2 separate regions of the Homo sapiens genome follow, and region 2 is linked to region 1. The links are contacts of gene promoters, found by promoter capture Hi-C in blood cells and fetal thymus (Javierre and others, 2016). All regions are on one chromosome and are shown on one strand. The core of a region is centred on a gene start or on the middle of the fragment in contact, and the rest is flanking DNA. Distances in the headings are between cores, read along the strand shown. Region 1 holds the start of TNFSF18 (TNF superfamily member 18). Region 2 has its middle 34 kb from the start of TNFSF4.

Region 1 (3,619 bases), core at 217-2,716:
AGCAGGGTTGTAATTAGAAATGCCTCTGTTGCACATAAGCCTTGTATACAGTTATGGAATACAAATTAATGGGCTACTGTGGAAAAATTGGCCAAAGCTATACCTACTCTAAATTAATATCAATAGGGGACTGCTTCCTCCTGCATCTTTTCTCAATTACTTTTACTTATCTTAAGTGGTAGAACTATATCTTTGAAATCTTTGCTGGTCAGTTCCCTTAAGAAAAGTGTTTCTGCAGTCACATTTCAACTCTTTCTCAGATGGACATATGCCACTTTATTCTCCCCAAAACTTAGAGTCTTCAAATTTAGCCAGAAATAGGCTAAATCCTGAAATAAATAAAGCATTTCTTATTTTCTTTTTGATCAGTGCTACGTAGTTAACTGTGAGGAAAGATTTTTTAGTAAAGAACAAAACTAATCTCCATTCCCAGTGTACCATCCCATTCTCTAGGCCCACAGCTTGGCCTGCATCTCAATGGGAAATTCCTGACAAGCATCAGGGGCTTCCCAAATAGATATGGGCTTTCTCATTCCTCCATGAAGTCTTCCCTGATCAACTCAATCTAAAGTCATTGTTCCCTGCTTTTGAGTGACTTAGGCATTTATTCTTCATACTACCCTTAAATAAATTCTTGATCATGACATTTTATAGCTAGAAGAAACATCATAATAAATCCATTCCCCTACCACCAGTTTTTTTAGATAAAGAAGCTGCAAACTAGAGAGATTAAATGTCTTTATCAAATTTATACAGCTGGTTATTAGGAGACCCAGAACCAGAATCCAGATCTTCTTACACCTAGCTCAGGGCCACTTCCCTCCTCAAAGACACACAAACCACCTGTCATTTACTTAATCCTGTCTTTCACTATTTTTTTAAGTCTTTTCCATAAATAAGACTATAGCTTGCATCCCATTCCTTGATATTCATTCATATTTTTACCTTTTTTATTCCACCAAGAGCTATAGCAGAGGGAAGGAAAAATACTCCACAGGCCCCTGTCAATTGGCTTAACCAGTTCTCTCTATCTAACAGAGTTCTGCAGCTAACATTTAGCATTTTCTGATACCTTTTATCTCAAAACCTTTAGATAAACTTCAAACGCCATGTCATGACAATATTAGAATTGTATTTACATTATGTATACACATCTCTTCCTTCCAACTATTGCTAACAATACTGAGTGACAATGATAACAACTAGAAAAACAAATAAATAGAGGATTATAGCAAATAGTAACCTTAGGTACAATTGCCTCCTTACCTCTAATTGGAGAAAAATAAAGATTAGCCAACTGAAGGAGCAAAGAAATAGCAACATAACTATTGAGCAAAAGAGCCACAGCTTCCAGGATGATCTCTGAGCTCCTTGAGTTCTTGAATGGCTTAAAGGCATATTTTCCAAGTGGCTCAAACACATTTTTGGAGAAATGAGAGCTGTGGAAAACAAAAATTCACAAGTGATGGGTGAAGGATGCAATGTCATGTTTTGTAGCAATATGGTAATTAGTAGTGGGTGTGGAAGGCGGAGTTTTCCTTCTGTCACTGTGTTAGAAAATGATACTTATAACTTAAGTGCTGACTCTCATTTGGCACCAGATCAAATACAACAAAAGGAACGGAAGGCTGAAAGCCAACACAAACTCAGAACATAAAAAAAAAAGCACAAGGGAAGTTCAGAGGGGAAAAAAATTTCTTTCCTAAATCAAACGGCAGTACAGTGCACGTGTAGAGGAGGCTTGGGAGAATAAAGTGGTGTGCTCTCATCTAAGAAAGTATTCCAGATTATTTCTAGATAAGAAAATCACTTTTTATAAGAAAAAATAAAGTTTGAGATTAATCCCCCTACCATACTCCAGATATCATGTACATGAGCGGCAGAGTGTTAGGAAGTTGGAGAGGCTAGGATCTCTAGTTTGGAAAAAATAGAGTTTTAATCAAGTCATCATCTTGTTTACCTTAAATACCCACAATTTTTATTTGTCAATTATACTTCAGTAAACCTGGAAAAATAAAATCTATACTCACAAAAATGTTTCATCAATTTCTAGTGTATAGAATGCGTTCATTCTGAGTCTCTAGAAAATATCAAGTGTATTACAAGAATTTAATAAAAAATTGTAAATACAACAAGCTCAATTTTATATTTCATCATTTTTAAACTCTGATAATCTAGTTCTGGCATAAGAAGTTATTTTACAGAAGGATATTTTCCTGCATCCTGCCCTCAGCCAGAGCTTATACTCTATTCCAAAAAAAAAAAAAAAAAAACCTTGGGTTTTCTTCCTGGGCCCAAAAATATGGGTTTACTACAAAATTGAGGAAGTCTCCTGGTTCTATGGACCTCAGTCACACAGGCTTTTAAATCAGACAGACCTCAAGAGCAGAGGCTGGCACTGCCCAGTTCCTACCTGCTCTGTGGCCTTAGGCATGTTACTTGAGTTCTCTGAGCTTCAGTTTCCTTCACTGTAAAATGGAGAAAATTTTCACTTTATAATGCTTTTGTGGAGAATGAAATGAAGGTGAAAAGTTTATGCATTCCATAAATGTTAGATTATCTCTTCTCTACCCTCTTTAGCGATGTAGTGAAGTTTAATTCAATTATTAAATCCTAGAAAAGAATGAACATTCTTTATCTTTCCCACAAGATAAAATTCACCTAAAGTTTACTTAAACAAAAGGAAGTACAATGAAAGTATTTTGGAAAACCTATTTTTTAATCTAAGAGAGAATTGACGATTTATAAATTAGAAAAAAGTCCAGAGATTTAACATCCTCCTTTACAAAAAAAGGAAACTAAGGACAAGAGGGTGTGAGTAGTGTCTCAAATCACTGCTGGCTGGTTAATGATGGAGTGAAAACTCAAGCCCACAGATACTGCTTTGTAATCCAACCATTTTGTCTTAATATTGCACTATTTACAATATTATTAGCAATATTTCTCTCTGAACTGTCAAAATTTTAATTTGGGCCCTATTTTACCTTGTTCAATAAACTACTTCTTAAAAGACCAGTTACACAAAAATGATTTTTCAACACAACAAATGTTTTTGTGGCTCTGTACTTAGATGCTGCAATGCAGGGATAAAGAATAAACTTACTCTAGAAAAAGACTGATGCCTTGATCCCATAACCTTTGCACTTGCATCAGATCTGGAATTCATATACACAAGCACAGAACTTAAAATTGGAAGTTAAATTATGTCCTTCCTGTTTTTATGATCTGCCCCTTTTCCTGTCTGCTTTCCAAATTTTTGAGGGAATTTCCCTGGCTTGCTACCTTAGGTAAACATTTATTCACATGAGAAACTGTTTTAAATAAAATCCAGTTCCTCCTTCCGCCTTTAACCACTGTTAGGCCCTGGAATATCCTTATTAATTATTTAACCTTATGACAGTATCTTAAGAAAGATGACATACTTATTTCAAGAAGACTATATTCTAGGGCCTCTTTTCATGAAATAGGATTTAGAAATGAGGAAACTTCAAGTTAAGACAGGTAACAGTAGGCAAGACTTTCTGAAATTCTAGAGCAATGAGTCACAGTTGGCACGATTTTGGTGTAAGTTATCAGGATTACATGTTATATCTCAGGATTTGACAAGAGGTAAATGAGC
Region 2 (3,944 bases), core at 1,171-3,670, 120 kb after region 1:
TTAACGTCTGTGCATTTGATAGAGCAGTCACCTCTTCTAGACTTCACAGACTGTTTTCAATAGAGAAAGACCTTCATCTACAGGTGTGTGAAAATGCACTGGCTGGATGAAATGGGGGGATTCTGGCTGTGATGAGTACACAGTGATGTAGTCTCCAAGCAGCTCTGTCAGCTGAGGTTGACATTGGTGAAGAATACAGGGGTCCTCTGTGGCCATGGCTGTGGGTGTCTACACTGGTGACTAGGACTGCTAAAATTCTCCTGATTTATATTTCTTTCACTGAAAAAGTCAAGGCTGAGGGGATCCCTCTTAGCACCAAGTCCAATGGTTGGGTGCATTTGTGGTGATGCGTCACTGGTGTCTGATGCATGGCACCCATGGAGTGACCATGAAGCTAGGGTCTGGAGCACAATATTGCATGGAAGGACCATGGCTTTGGGGTCAGAGGCAGCAGCGGCATCAGTGCCTGGGGTGCAGGAGCTCTTGCTGCTGTATCGGTAATGATGTGTGAGGTGCAGGCATTCATGAAGTAGCTGTGGAGCCTGGGTCTGGTGTACAGGCATGTGTAGGGTTACCACTGCTCCAGGGAGCAGGTTGCTGACATGACTGCTGCAGTGGTAGCTCCAGTATTAGAGTGGCCACAGACCCTGGGTCTGAAACATAAGTATGCTTGGAACAGTGGCTCCACTGACCAGGGTGCAGGCTAGCTCATTGTGATGGTGGTTCTGGTGTCTGGGGTGCAAGCATGGTTAATGCAGCCATAAATCTGGGGCAGGGAGTTCACAGGAAATCAGAGAAAGGGTTGCCTCAGTCCCAGAGCTGCACAACAGTGGCTTCTTTTAGGGGTGACATAGCATTATCTCCCTCTCCAGGGAGTTCACAGTGTTGATTGCTATTAGTTACCTCAATGGCAAAAGCTTCCAGTGCCCTCTGCAGAGCATGCCACTGGGGACCACAGTGGAACCCACTGTGTAACTGTGACTCAAGCTGATATCCCCTGCTCTATGTTCCTGTTTCTAGTCATCTCTACACATCTCAGGTATGCTGATATCCCCAACAATCATTATGTGTTATTATTATCTATTTTTTGCACCACTGTGTTGCTGCACGTTCTTAATTAGACCCTTGAGCCCTCTCAAAACTATTTTCCTTTGTGGATTGATGTATTAGTCCATTCTCATGTTGCTATAAAGAACTGCCCAAGACTGGGTAATTTATAAAGGAAAGAGATTTAATTGACTCACAGTTCTGCAGGGCTGGGAAGGCCTCAGGAAATTTACAATCATGACGGCAGGGGAAGCAAACATGTCCTTCTTCACAAGGCAGCAGCAAGAAGTGCAGAGTGAAGGAGGAAAAATCCCCTATAAAACCATCAGATCTCATGACTACTCCCTCACTATCATGAGAACAGCTTGGGGGAACTACCCCCATGATCTAATCACCTCCCATGAGGTCTCTCCCCAACATGTAGGGATTATAATTTGTATTACAATTCAAGATGAGATTTGGGTGAGGACACAGAGCCAGACTATATCATTCTACCCCTGGTCCCTCCCAAATCTCCTGTTTCTCACATTTCAAAACACAATTATGCCTTCCCAACAGTTCCCCAAAGTCTTAACTCATTTCAGCATTCATCCAAAGGTCAAAATCCATAGTCTCGTCTGAGACAAGGCAAGTCCCTTTTGCCAACGAACCTGTAAAATCAAAAGAAAGTTAGTTACTTCCAAGATATAATGGGAGTACAGGCACTGGATAAATGCACCCATTCCAAATGGGAGAAATTGACCAAAACAAAGGGGCTACAGTCTCCTTGTAATAGGGCAAATTATTAATTATTAATAGGGCAAACAACAAAGGTTGTCCATGAGGGCTCCACCCCTGCAGCAAACTTCTGCCTGAACATCCAAGCATTTCCATACATCCTCTGAAATCTAGGCAGAGGTACCCAAACCTTAATTCTTGACTTCTGTACACTCGCAGGCCCAACACCATATGTAAGCTGCCAAGGCTTGGGGCTTGCACCGTCTGAAGCAAGGGCGTGAGCTGTACATTGGCCCTGTTTGGCCATGGCTGGAGTTGAAGCAGCTGGGACACAGGGCACCATGTCCCGAGGTTGCATAGAGCAGGGGGGCCCTGGGCTGTGCCCAGAAAACCATCCTTCCTTTCCAGGCCTCAGAGCCTGTGATGGGAGGGGCTGCCACGAAGGTCTCCGACATGCCCTGGAGACATTTTCTCCATTGTCTTGGTGATTAATACTTGGTTCCTCATTACTTAAGCAAATTCCTGCAGCCAGCTTGAATTTCTCCCCAGAAAATGGGTTTTCCTTTCTGTCACATTGTCCGGCTGCAAATTTTTCAAACTTTTATGCTCTGCTTCCTCTTGAATGCTTTGCAGCTTAGAAATTTCCTCTGCCAGATACTCTAAATCACCTCTCTCAAGTTCAAAGTTCCACAGATCTCTAGAGCAAGGCCAAAATGCTGCCAGTCTCTTTGCATAGCAAGAGTGACCTTTACTCCAGGTCCCAATGAGTTCCTCATCTCCATCTGAGACCACCTCAGTCGGGACTTTATTTTCCATATCACTATCCGCATTTTGATCAAAGCCATTCAACAAGTCTCTAGGAAATTCCAAACTTTTCCACATTTTCCTGTCTTCTGAGCCCTCCAAACTGTTCCAACCTCTACCTGTTACCCAGTTCCAAAGTAACTTCCACATTTTCATGTATCTTTACAGTAGCACCCCACTCTCTGTGGTACCAGTTTACTGTATTAGTCCATTCTCATGCTGCTATAAAGAACTGCCCGAGACTAGGTAATTTATAGAGGAAAGAGGTTTAACTGGCTCACAGTTCTGCAGGGCTGGGGAGGCATTGGGAAACTTACAATGGTGGCAGGGGAAGCAAACGTGTCCTTCTTCACATGGCAGCAGCAAGAAGTGCAGAATGAAGGGGGAAAAGTTCTTTATGAAACCTCAGATCTCATGAGAACTCACTCAGTATCAGAACAGCATGGGAGAACCACCCCCATGATCTAATCACTTCCCACGAGATCCCACCCCAGACTACAAGATGAGATTTGGGTGGGGACACAGAGCCAAACCATATCAATTGCTGTCTCATTGTTTTCTGTGGGGGAATGAAAGCTGGTATCTCATACACTGCCATATGGCCAATGTCACTTCTATAGAATTTTCAATAATGAAACAAAAAGCTACAGGGCTAGCACCTCATACAGATTATACAGTCTGTCCCACTTGGTAATAATGTAAAAAATACCACTTATCTTAATCATCTATCTTGTAAACCTACAGACTTTCATCTTTCTTTACTCCTTTTAGAGTCTCTTACGTCTTTGTTTTCTGTGAAGTAAGATCCTATCGGGCAGGGACTGTGGTTTCTACAAGTGGTAATTAAAAATTATTAAATACCTTGAAAATGTCATAATCTGTGACCCGTGGTTGGTGTTTTGTTTAATCCTCAAAACAATCCTATGAGATAATTTGTATGATGGCAGAGCAGGGAAGGCAGTGATCAGTAGACCTACAATTAAGTAAAACCAGAGGATACAGCTGATAAGTGGTGGTAAAATCTCAACTTGAACACAAGCCTCCATTGATTCTAAATCTTGAGTGCTTTAGACCAACCATATTATTCTAGTGTCTTTCTATTTCTCTCAGATTCCCCAGAACACCTAACACAGTGGCAGGTACTTTATAAAAGAATTTTTAACAAATATTTGTTTAAATAAATTAATTTTGTTATAGGCCCTCAAATTTAATAAATCTCTAGTGTAAATCTACATTCTTGAAAGGCTCTTATATTATCCATTCCTTGATTTTTTTCTCTATGCCTACTTTATTTTTGCTTTCTCCTCACTTGTACTCCCTCATTCCTTCCCTGATGCTATCAGGCCCCCTGAAAAGGAAGCTTTTGTTTAGAAAGT

Evidence for each region. Contacts are between HindIII fragments. The CHiCAGO score rates a contact against its expected background, and 5 or more counts as called.
Region 2: a contact is called between a fragment that was not itself captured here and the fragment with the promoter of TNFSF18 in region 1, in 1 of 17 cell types (endothelial precursors). The highest score is 5.7, in endothelial precursors.

The regions. Positions count from the first base shown.
Region 1 is chr1:173,049,475-173,053,093 of GRCh38, forward strand. It overlaps TNFSF18 (TNF superfamily member 18), which reads right to left and starts at 1,467. Exons shown (of 3, transcript NM_005092.4): 1 at 1,267-1,467. The coding sequence starts at 1,422. The HindIII fragment of the contact is 4,458 bases long and covers 1-3,619 here.
Region 2 is chr1:173,171,660-173,175,603 of GRCh38, forward strand. It overlaps a transcript of TNFSF4 not described here. Among named protein-coding and RNA genes, the nearest start is that of TNFSF4, 34 kb to the right of the region's middle. The HindIII fragment of the contact is 3,011 bases long and covers 916-3,926 here.